3 separate regions of the Homo sapiens genome follow, and all the other regions are linked to region 1. The links are contacts of gene promoters, found by promoter capture Hi-C in human tissues and cell types (Jung and others, 2019). All regions are on one chromosome and are shown on one strand. Each heading gives the region's core, a stretch centred on a gene start or on the middle of the fragment in contact. The rest is flanking DNA. Distances are from core to core; before and after follow the strand shown.

Region 1 (4,407 bases), core at 214-2,713:
TTCTGAATTTTCATATCCATCAGTCACTCTACTTTCACAACAACCCAAGTGAGGTAGACAGGCAGGCCTGGGAAATCCCATTTCATAGACTGAGGCTCAGAGAGATTGAAGGACTTCCCTTAAGTTCCCCAGCAAGGAGCCTTCCATGAGATTTTAGGCCTTTTGGCTCTAGGTTCAGTTCTTTTCAATGCTCACTGAGGTACCACTCTCGTGTCAGCCCAATTGGAATAATGAAGAAAAGAAATTTTCTGTCCCACATCCATCCCCCTATCTATCTCCCTGAGCTCACAGGCTCAGGAGGAGCAAGAGGGCATCTTCCACACCTCAGGACGTGGGAAACCTGTGTTTCTGTTAAGAGAGGAGGGCCTAGCCCCCAGAGGCCCCAGTCCTGGTGATGACCCAAGCCCGGCTCACCTACAGGAAGCCCTAAGACATGGTCCGGCGAAGGCAGTCCAAAGCGGAACCTCCGGGTGTTGTGGCTGATTTTCTGATAAAACAAAACATAGGCAGGTTCTGTCAGCTTTCTAGAAGCCTTGCTGGGCAGCTGAGATGCCTGGGAAAGGAGGTCCGTTTGGCGCTATTCCAGCACACACACACACACACACAGGGCGGCGGGGAGTGAACTGGAGGCCATGAGATGACTGTCTGGATGCCCTGCCATCCCAGCCATCATCCACTTACTGCCTTCCACCCACAGGGCTGACCCATTACCTCTTTCTCAATCAAGGGCAGCGGGTACTTGGCTTCAGGGTCCTGTAAGGTGATTGGCTCTCTCCTCCTGGAGTTCATGCTCTTCAGGACCAACACGAGCACAGTGACCCCAGTGACGGTGATGGTCAGGAGCAGGGACGGGTCCTGGCAGACACAATGTGAACAGAGCACCTCAGGTCTTGCCCGCCCTGGACAGGGCAGCTCTCAGGCGCAGAACACCCTCCCCACACCAAAGGCACAGGAGCTGAGCTCTGCCTGCAGGAAATAGGCAAAGAGAACAGTAGTGACACAGAAGGCGGCTGGGAGAGCCTGTCGTGGACCAGAGGGTAGGGAGGGGTCAGCTGCAGGTCACACAGGAAGGATGTTTCAGGCCCCTGGAGCAGGCAGCACACATGGCCTGGGGTGCTCAGGTCACTAGGCCCCTCCTGGCTACAGCCAAAGGTTCATACACTGGAAGTCCCTTCCTTGAGGTGAAGGGGGAGGACATCACCCCTAACACACAATCCGGAATGAGGGGCCCAGTCCCTAAAGACAGAACTAGGGTGCGTAGCTCTAAGAGGTGCCCCGTGACTTAGGGCCTGGGGACTCCCCAACAGTCTCCTGGACAGGGCGAAGGGGGCCTGGGCACTCAACTGCCAGAGACTCGGGAGCCTCCCCGCATCTGTCCCTACCCTACAAGGCCGCCCTGCTCCTCTCCCAACTCAAGCCCGACAGGGAAAGTTGCCTCTCCTCCCGCCGGGTCACTGGAGTCTCAGCCTTCCGGAATCCGAGCCGGCCCGCCCCACTCCCCGCCCTTCGCGGTCCCGCCCACGACCTCTCCCCACGCCTCCCGCTCCGGCCCCCAACCTCCCGGTCGGACGTTCGTTCCCGGCTCTAGCCGGCCTCCGCGCCTCTGGCCTCTTTCCTTCCGGCCGTCCCGACGGAGATATTTCTTCAATACTCCATAAATACACCCCGCCGCGGAACCCACCCGGAGTGAGACGCCCAACACGTCGTCGAACTGGGGTTGGCCGGGGGCCGCTCCCCGCCGCGGGCCCGCAGACTCGTGGCGTCGCCCCGCAGCTCCGCCTGGCCGACGGGGAACCGGCCGAGACCCGGACACGCACGCCCGGGAGGACAAAAGCGCGGGCGGACCCCGCAGGCTGGGACCCCGGCGGCTGGCCCGCTCCCCGAGAAGGGCCGTGGTCGGGGGGCTCTCACTCACGAGCCGCTGGCTCTGGGTCAGCCCTGCCCCCAGGGCAGCGCTCCATCATGAGGCTGGCGGGGCGCTGAGCCGTGGCGTCCTCGCTCCTGCGCTGCCCCTCTGCATCCTGGCCCCTTCCCTGCACACGCAGAGCTGCCACACTGAGCGCCCCTCAGCTTACTTAAGCTCGGCAAGGCTGGAGAAGGCCGTCTGGGTGACCGGGCGGAGGGGGATGCTGGGGAAGGAAGAATTCAGGCAGCTGCAAAGAGCGCGCGAATATATTCATTCGACATACCTCATGGGCGCCTACCCTGGGCCTGGTCCGGGGCGGGTGTTTGCGGGGTGGGGCCGAAGCAGGGGCGTCGCCGAGTTGAAGACGTGTACTCCGAGCGCTCCTGCGTTCATTCATTCGCTGGGTGGAGAGAGGAAGGACAAGAGCCCCGCGCCGATCGGAGGGGAGCAGAATAGTAGGCACAGTTAGAGGGTCTTCACGGTGCGTTTCGGAACCTTGGCTGCCCGGCTCGCCCTTGATTACAGGCAAAGGCAAATTCTTGCCTCAGGACCTGTGTGAAACAGAGAAGCCCAGAAGCAGATCCCCACCTGTTTGACTCTGCTAGGGCTGCTGTAACAAAGTGCCGCAGACTGAGCGGCTTAAACAACAAAAATTTATTGTCTCGCAGGTCTGGGGGCTGGAAGTCCAAAATCAAGGTGTGGGCAGAGTGGGTTCCTTCTGAGGGCTGTGAGGGAAGGATCTGTTCCATGCCTCTCCTAGGTTTGTAGGAGAGGGGCTAGGAGAAGGGGCATCTTCTTCCTATGTCTCCACATTTTCATCCCTCTGTGTGTGTCCCTGTGTCCAAATTTCCCCTTTTATGAAGACACCAGTCATATTCAATTAGGGTCCATCCTAATGACCTTGTTTTAACTTGATTACCTATGTAAAGGCTCTACCTTCAAATAAGGTCATATCCTTAGGTACTGGGGCTTAGGGCTTCAACATAAGAATCAGGGTGAAAACAATAACCCATAACACTTTACCAACCCTTCTCCCCAAGACACACACCACCACAGGCTCAAAAATTCTTGCTGTGTGAATGAATAAACAAACTTAATTTTCTCTCTTTGACTTAATCAAATGCCTTTACTTTTGATTTACCTGCAGGTGCTTGGTTATTATAGGCAGATATTTTAATTTTTGACAATGCGATAAGTGTAAAATGATGTATCAGGAATCCAATTTGCATTACCTAATAACTGCTAATAAGTTTGAGCACCTTTCATATATTTATTTCCCATGGAGTTTCCTTTTCAGAAAAAAAAAAATGCCTGCTCATAAATTTTGCTCATTTTTCTGTTGTCTTTTTCTTACTGATTTTTAGGGGTTTTATATGTTTTAGATATCCCTTCTTTGCCAGTTACATGAATTAGTAATGTTTTCTCGTAATTTGTAACTTATTCTTTCTTTTTTCTTTCTTTCTTTTCTGTCCCACCTTTTTGTGGTGTAGTCTGATGAATAGAAATTTGAATTGCAGTATAACCAAATATACCAATCTTCAATTTTTTTGCCGTTATGGTTAGTGATTTTTGTGACTTGTCTATTTCTACCCAAGCCCTTAAAGATATTCTATATTTTCCCCAACAAGATTTAAAGATTTTCCTTTCACATTTAAGTTTTTCAACCACTTGGAATTGATTTCTGTGTAGGATGTGAGGCAGGGATACAATTTCATTTTTCCATGTGGCTAATGTGTGTTTTTCAGTAACATTTATTGAATTGCTCACATCTGGCCACTGACCTGCAACTGACCTGCTACCCCTGGCCTATATCAGTTTTCATAGGTGTGTGAGTCTAGCTCCGGCCTCCCATTTCTCTTACATTATCTAGCTGCCCAACCTTGTCGCAATACTACACTGTTTTAGTTACGGTAGTTTACAACAAGTGTTTATGTCTTTCATTCTTATACATTCTTTAGATCTCAGGTCAGATATCACTCCCTTGGAGATGCCTGCTGTGATCCCCCAACTTAAGTACATGTACATATTATAATCTGTTAAGTTTAACTTAAAGCTGCCTCCTTAATGTTTTAGTTTCACCCTAAAAGTTTCTTCGTACATAGTGAACTGTAACCTACTCTTGTATCAATCATGGAAGTTTCAGCCCATTATAGGCAGCCAACTGTTCAGACTGTGTTCAGGTAAGGCAAATCATGAGCTGTAACCAATCCCGCTGTTTCTGTACCTCACTTATGTTTTCTGTACATCACTTTCCTGTTTCTGTCCATAAGTATTATGCAACCACGTGGCAGCCCCAGAGTTGCTCTGAACCTATTCTGGTTCTTAGGGTTGCCTGATTCATAACTTGATTTTTGCTCAATTAAACTCTGTTAAATTTAGTTTTTCTTTTCGTTTAACTATTCTATTCATAGCTTTTTTTTTCTTTTTTCAGAGACAGTCTCACTCTGTTGCCCAGGCTGGAGTACAATGGCACGATCATAGATCACTACAACCTTGAACTC
Region 2 (4,138 bases), core at 1,122-3,621, 370 kb before region 1:
CAAGGAGCCTGTAACCTTTTAGATTTCTGTTCTGTATCAGAGACATGAATATGGGAAAACTCCATGCTTCCTACGCCCTCCTTGGTCTCTACTTAGTTCATAAAAATAATAGTTAACATCATTAAGACAGCATGTGTGAAGTACTCTATAAGAACTTTATATTCATATTTTATTATAGCTCACAACTTAGCATGAAATGTATACTATTATCATTCTTATTTTACAGCAGAAGAAACTTAAGTCAAGGCGATTAAATTTTTTAAAAAGCTGTATATGTAAATACCCAGGTCAGGATTTGAACCCTGGCTCAACCAACACAAGAATCTGAGCTCTTAACCACCCTTCCCTGCTGCCCTCCTACTGCTTTAGAATTTATTCCCTGTGCATCTGACCTATCCTAACAGTCACACACAGGCTCTCTTCAGACTCCGCCGTGTGGCTGGAGGTCTTTGTCCGTCTCCAGCCTTTGGAAGGCTTACAGAGTACCGATACCTAGGTCACTCTCTTTTCATTGTCTGGATGCTTTATGCTCTTCAGCAGTAGAGAAATAATATAATGCAGTGAAAAAAGATGCGGTCTCTCAAGTCAAATGAATTGGCTTTACTTACATGTGTGACATTGAACAAATTACTTAAACTCCGTATCTGTCCATTTCCTCTTCTTCAAAAGAGGAGTAGATAGTACTGATTTGTAGGTGGTTTTAAGAATGAAATGATGACATGTGCTTGCACAGGTCTGGCACCTGGTAAATGTTCCAAAATGTGAGCTGCCATTTTGCTGTTAGTATTGCTATTATGGCCTCTCCCAAGGCTCAGATGTTGCACAAAAGTGTGTTTGAGGCTAAGCAGCCAGTTCTAAATCACTGGATATAAAAACTCATTTTTGATAAGATATTTCAGGAAAAGAGACTCAGGAAGCAGCTTTCTTTAGAATGAAAATATTGGCCTGAGTGATGGCCAGAGAAATAGCATGTGCTGTTATTTGGAAGGTATAAACACAATTTGGAGGTATTTTTTAAAAATATTTGCTGTTTGTTCTCCAGAAACAGAAATAAGACTTTACCCTTTTTATGTTAATCGAGTTTATCCTAGAGGCTCCACTCATTCTCATTAAGTGGGATGGAATATGCCAGTTTCTAATTTGATTGTTTCAGAAACTTATTTTAGCATCATTTTCAATTCTGAATCAAAGAGCCAAATCTAAAATATGCCTCTGTGAGGAGATGGGTAGTTGTCTGCCGTTTGATTTAGAAGAAATCCTCAGATTTTATCACTAGGATTTATCTTCAGATTTAAAACTTAAATATAACTAGAGCTCTATTTGATGCTGTCATAGAGTTCATGCAATGTGCAGACTTATAATAAAATCCTTTCAGTATTTCAATAGCTAAAGCCTTTTAGATAGAGTCTCCATTGAAATTTCCATTGAAATTGCCCCCTATTTGGTTCTACTCTGCATGTAACTTTTCTGGTCTGAGTTCCTCCAATATATGGTGGTAGTACTGTGATCTTGCTAGATTTGATCTGGGGACTCTGCCATAATTCTAACAAACTGATAGCAATGATGCCACTATAATTATCACAATATTTATACTGGGAAAGTATATAAATATACTGCATAGCAATAAGGATTTGCTTAAAAAATAACTGTTATCACTACTGATTTGTAGAAATTGGGTAGAAGGAAAAAAATTAAAAGGGAGAGTGAAGGAATTATCCCTGTAAAATGCACTTTGTGTTCAGATTTATTTTAGTTTTGAAGGCATGCAATTACATTATCTTTTCTGATGGCAAAAATCAAGTTTAGCAATATCTGAACTACTATAAGAAAACTACTCTTTTCTAGCTGCATTTGACCTAATACTGACAATTTGCATTTTTATGCATTTAAAACATTCATACCTAAGTTACTACTGACCTAGTTTTATGGGGTCTGTCTGGAAATATATATCCTTGTCTCAGGATCTCACCACAATAAGAGCAGTACATGGTCTTCTAATTCTTTGAGGATTGTGTTGCATCATGAGAAAATGCACACACACATACACACTTTTTGCTAACAAAAAGGAAAAAGAGAATGAAATTTCCTTTATGCCTCAAAGCATTTTTAACATTCTTCTTTAACATTTTCGATACCCATATTTGGGGAGGGGAAAGGTAAGCTTTGCTGAGAAAGCTCTAAACAGTCTGCTTTTCCAGTTACTGTTTCTTCTCTTTTCTTTCTCATTATGTTCTTTACTTTCTCCCTGCCGACACCGTCTTACTGCTTCCATCCTGCAGCCATTATCACCGTCTCAGGACAGCCATGATCACAGTCTCAGGGTTCCCAGTGCACGAAAGACACAGCCTCCATTTAAAGGTGTCTTCAGGATCCTTGTGATTGGCACAGTTTCTGTCACACCATTGACATCAAAAATCTCAACCTCACCTGGCCTCTTCGGCTTGGATGTGTTCTTGGATATGTTTGGCTGACACAGTGCCTTTTTGAAATGTCCTAAAGATGGGCTTTGTTTTATCTTCTAAGAATGTTTCTGGTCAGAATGACTTTCTGTTGTTCTTTCAAGATCAAGCATGTTCGGTGTCTAGTTTCTTCAGTGACTATTAGTACCATCCAAAATTCCTGTCAATTCTTTTTGATTTGAATGAAGTCCCTTTTGTACAGTGACTCAATATGCTGGAAATGTGGATGTTTCAATTTTCTCAGAATTTTTTAATTCCAGAGCTTTATAAAGTTCTCTACTCCAAATGTATGAAAATCCCTGGATCCCCAAAATAGAAGGAACCTTGAAAGGCCATCTAATCCATTTCCTGATTCATGTCCTAAGATGAAAGTTCATCCTATTTTTCTCAAGCCTTCTCAAATGTCTTATGTAACACTTCAGTTTTTCAAAAATTTCAATTACCACACCACAAACCCCTTATCAGGTCTATTAAGGCCCTGCATTTTAATACTGCCACAGTCTGCTTCCAACAGCCTCACCTTATGGCCAAGGCCACCATGTTGCAGAACCCTAGGGGACTATTTTAACATGAACTCAATAGGAGACTGCCTGGAAGAAGCTTGTTGTACTGCAGCTGCACTAGCCTCTCTCTTAGTTCCTTCAGCATCCCAAGCCCCTTCCTGCCTTGAGGTCTTCACACGTTGTTCCCTCAGCCAGGAATGCTTTTCCTTTTTTTGTCCTTCTTGGGACCTTTACTTCCCTTACACCCTAGCTGAAACATCACCTTCTCAGAAAGTTCTCCCCGGCCACTCCATCTGAAGTCTGTGTTCTGTCCCCCACTCCTTCCCACTTTAATTCTCCCTCGCATTGCCTTGTTTTCATGCCTTCACAGGATTAAATTATTTTAAGTGATTCTTTATTGCTTGTACTCCCCTCTAGACTGAGTTCTGTGAGCTCAGAGACCACATCTGTTTTGTTTCTTCCTGTCTATCCAGCCCCTAGCACCACCTGGCACATGGAGGACTTTTTTCCATGAATGACTGACAGAATACATTGGTCAATATCAGGCCACTTTTCTCATGCTCTTCTGACAAGAATGACAAAGGGCCAGAAGTATAAACTGAGCAGAGCCTGTAATAATGGTGTGAGGCTGGCGGAAGGCCATTTGTCCCAGGTCTCACATTCATTAAGAGCCCCACATTAGGTTTTTGACCTTACCTCTGAATTAAGCAATCCGTAGAGTTACAGAAATATGCTGACAGAATTGAAAGAGGAAGATAACCATCACACTCTAAATTTAGGTCCCATGACTGGCCACAACTCAAGTAAATAGTACACAAAAATTGAATGTAATTATACTATGAGTAGCACATTTCTATTAAGTTATATTTTTGTGTGGTGAGAACATTGGTTCAATGTAAACATCTAAAACATAATTTTTGAATTATAGTTATTTCTTCAGATTTAAATTAACTGCTTCAAAAGTGGAAGTTGCCTAGACCTATCTCAACTTCCACGAGACCCCGAAATGATATGTAAATGAGTGTTTTCTCTACTGGGATTAAATTATCAGAAACTATTATATCCATAGCATTTCTATATTTACTCTAGACACAGATATCAAGCATTTGCTATGGCAAAATTCAATATTAGGTGGTGGCAATAAAGAGAGAAAAAATATATAACCATGCCCACAAA
Region 3 (3,965 bases), core at 125-2,624, 430 kb before region 1:
TTATAATCATTAATGTATATCATTCAGGGACATTGTAGGTGACTTCAAAGATCTTTTTCCAAAGGCCTTTTTCTTTTCTTTTCTCTCTTTTTTTTTTGTTTTTGTTTTTGTTTTTTGAGTCAGGGTTCTATTCCGTCACCCACCAAAGGCTTTTTTCGTCAGCATATAAACTGGAGGTTCTCAAATTTCATTGTTCAGAAGCATTACCCAGTGTCTTATTCTGTTTGTACTGCTGTAACAGGATACCTGAGATTAGGTAATTTAAAAAGAAAAAACATTTATTGTCTTATAATTCTGGAGTCTGGGAAGTCTAAGATCAAGGCACTGGCATCTGGCAAGGGCCTTCTTACTGTATCATCACATCGTAGATGGTGGAAGGGCAAAGAGACAAAAGGGGGCCAAACTCACCCTTTTATAACAGCATAATTCTACCCATGCAAGTGGAGCCCTCATGGCCTAATCATCTCATCAACATTCTACCTTTTAATACTGTTAAAATGGCAATTAAATTTCAACATGTATTTTTGTCCAACCATAGCATCTGGGATGCTCTTTACGAAATAATTGTGTAGGTCTGAGTGAATCCGAGGAACCAGCATTTTCATAAGAAATCCAGGCAATTTCAGAAAAGAAGGCAAGTGAACCTTACTTTGGGAAACATTGATAAAAACATTCTGAAGTCGCTCCTATCTTCAAACAGCTTTTCTTCTATGCACTTTTTTTTTTCAGTTACCATCTTCTCTTTGTCCTTCTCTCAAAAGATTTACTTTTACTTCTACTTGGTAGGTCTAAACAGCAAAACTTCCTAACCAGGGCACCAGGGAAGCTTGATGTGCCACAGAATGGGTAATACCTGGGCTGAGACTTTGATTCCTTCTGCCACAGTCCCTGCTGGCCACCAGTGGCCTAGTCCCTTACCCCCATGTGCTGTAAAAAGTTCACTTTCTATCTATGCCACGACAAGTACAAGACTGAGAAGCACTGCCTTAGAGAGCAAGGATCATTGTTTATTTCTCTATATATTACCCAGGACCTGGAAGGCTTCCTGAGTCACAGGGGACTTCCTCTGTCATGCTTTCTGAATCATAGAAGAATACATATTTGTTCAATGAATGAAAGAACAAATAGTTGGGGAAAGGTAACATATTTCAGCTAACTCTACTTCTTCAATTTCCATGTACTTTTTAATCCTGTGTTCAGCTGGTTCCACCCTCACCACTCTACTATAATTGCAGAAGAACAGAGGCTTTGGAGCCACAAAGATGTGGATTCCAGTCCTGTTTCTATCATTTACCAGTTTTTTGCCTATTTCAGATGTCTACTGCTGCATTAAAAGGTTGCTCCCAAACTCTATGACTTAAAACAACCACCATTTTATTGCTCATGATTTTGTGGGTGAGAAATTTGGTAAATGGGGATGGTTCACCTCTGCTTCACTTATTGTCTGCTGTGCTCATTTGTGGGCTGGAAGGTCCAAGTTCGAGAGGTCCATGGCCTCACTCACATGTGTGAGGTCTTGGGCTGGCTGTTGACTGAGGCATCTATTTTAGTCTTCCAGGGCTACTGTAACAAAATAGCATATACTGGGTGGCTTAAACAATAGAAATTTATTTTCTCACAGTCAGAAGTCTGGGAAGTCCAAGCTCAAGGTTGCAGCCAATTCCATTTCTAGTGAGGGCTTTCTTCCTGGCTTGCAGAGAGCTGCCTTCTCACTGTGTCCTCACATGGCAGAGAGAAAGCAAACTCTTTGATGACTCTTTTTAAAAATTATTTTTTATTTCTATAGGTTATTGGGGAACAGGTGGTGTTTGGTTACATGATTAAATTCTTTAGAGATGATTTGTGAGATATTGGTGCATCCATCACCCAAGCACTATACGCTGCACCCTATTTGAAGTCTTTTATCTCCTGCCCCCTTCCCACCCTTTCCCCTGAGTCCCCAAAGTCCATTGTGTCATTCTTATGTCTTTGCATCCTCACAGCTTAGCTCTGCTTGTGAGTGAGAACATAAGATGTTTGGTTTTCCATTCCTGAGTTACTCCACTTAGAATAATAGCCTCCAGTCTCATCCAGGTCACTATGAATGCCGTTAATTCATTCCTTTTTATGGCTGAGTAGTATTCCATCATATATATATACATATATATATACACACACATATATATACACATATATACATATATACACACATATATACATATATATACACGTATACATGTATATACACATATATACACATATACATATATATGTGTATATATACGTATATATACATATATACGTGTATATATACGTGTATATATACGTGATATATATATATACATATGTATATATACGTATATATGTGTGTATATATATATATATATCACAGTTTCTTTATCCACTCATTGATTGATGGACATTTGGGTCGGTTCTGTGTTTTTGCAATTGTGAATTGTGCTGCTATATACATACATGTGCAAGTATCTTTTTCGTATAATGACCTCTTTTGCTCTGGGTAGATACCCAGTAGTGGGACAGCTGCATCAAATGGTAGTTCTACTTTTAGTTCTTTAAGGCATCTCCACACTGTTTTCCATAGTGGTTGTACCAGTTTACATTCCCATCAGCAATGTAGAATTGTTCCTTGTTCACTGCATCCACACCAACATCTACTGTTTTTTGATTTTTTGATTATGGTCATTCTTGCAGGAGTAAGGTGGTATCGCATTGTGCTTTTGATTTCAATTTCCCTGTTCATTAGTATGTTGACCATTTTTTCATGTTTGTTGGCCATTTGTATATCTTCTTTTGAGAATTGTCTATCCATGTCCTTATCCCACTTTTTGATGGGATTGTTTGTTTTTTTCGTGTTGATTTGTTTGAGTTCGTTGTAGATTCTGGATATTAGTCCTTTGTCAGATGTATAGATTGTGAAGATTTTTCTCCCACTCTGTGAGTTGTCTGTTTACTCTGCTGTTTTTTTTTTCCTGTGCAAAAGCTCTTTAGTTTAATTAAGTCCCAGAAATGTATCTATCTTTGTTTTTATTGCATTTGTTTTTGGGTTCTTGGTCACGAAATCCTTGCCTAAGCCAATGTCTAGAAGAGTTTTTACAATGTTATCTTCCAGAATTTTTATAGTTTCAGCTCTTAGATTTAAGTCCTTAATCCATCTTGAGTTGATTTTTGTATAAGGTGAGAGATGAGGATCCAGTTTCATTCTCCTACATGTGGCTAGCCAATTATTGCAGCACCATTTGTTGAAAAGGGTGTCCTTTCCAAATAAAATACTTAGGAATATACCTAAACAAGGAGGTGAAAGACCTCTACAAGGAAGACTGCAAAACACTGCTGAAAGAGATCAGAGATGACACAAACAAATGGAAACATGTCCCATGCTCACAGATGGATAGAATTAATATTGTGAAAATGACTATACTGCCAAAAGCAATCTACAAATTCAACACAATTCCCATCAAAATACCACCATCATTCTTCATAAAATTACAAAAAACAATTCTAAAATTCATATGGAACCAAAAAAGAGCCCACATAGCCAAAGCAAGACTAAGCAAAAAGAGCAAATCTGGAGGCATCACATTACCTGATTTCAAACTATACTATAAGACCATAGTCACCAAAACAGCATGGTAGTTGTATAAAAATAGGTATACAGACCAATGGAACAGAATAGAGAACCCAGAAATAAACCCAAATACTTACAGCCAGCTGGTTTGATGATTCTTATAAGGAAACTAATCCTATTGGATCAGGGCTCTACCTTTATGACCTCATTTACTCTTAATTAAGTCCTATCTCCAAATACAGTGACATCGGGAATTAGGGCTTCAACATAAGAATTTACAGTTCACTCTATAGCAGTATCTCACTTCCCTTCTGTATGATATTCTTTCTCCACATTGTTTCTCATTCTTCTGGACCCCTCTCCAGCAAGATATCCTGTAAAAGTTGCAAGATCTTTTCAA

Evidence for each region. Contacts are between HindIII fragments. The study calls those that stand out against the background at their distance.
Region 2: a fragment that was not itself captured here is called in contact with the fragment with the promoter of CYB5R2 in region 1 in 1 of the 25 tissues and cell types used here (lymphoblastoid cells).
Region 3: a fragment that was not itself captured here is called in contact with the fragment with the promoter of CYB5R2 in region 1 in 2 of the 25 tissues and cell types used here (dorsolateral prefrontal cortex and hippocampus).

The regions. Positions count from the first base shown.
Region 1 is chr11:7,672,037-7,676,443 of GRCh38, forward strand. It overlaps CYB5R2 (cytochrome b5 reductase 2), which reads right to left and starts at 1,464. Exons shown (of 9, transcript NM_016229.5): 1 at 1,383-1,464; 2 at 712-855; 3 at 415-487. The coding sequence starts at 789. RefSeq lists enhancers at 1,077-1,126, 1,147-1,246 and a silencer at 1,767-1,976. The HindIII fragment of the contact is 10,078 bases long and covers 1-4,407 here.
Region 2 is chr11:7,303,470-7,307,607 of GRCh38, forward strand. The region is part of intron 2 of SYT9 (synaptotagmin 9); the gene reads left to right. Among named protein-coding and RNA genes, the nearest start is that of SYT9, 54 kb to the left of the region's middle. The HindIII fragment of the contact is 3,938 bases long and covers 403-4,138 here.
Region 3 is chr11:7,245,336-7,249,300 of GRCh38, forward strand. It overlaps a transcript of SYT9 not described here. Among named protein-coding and RNA genes, the nearest start is that of SYT9, 4.6 kb to the right of the region's middle. The HindIII fragment of the contact is 9,657 bases long and covers 1-3,965 here.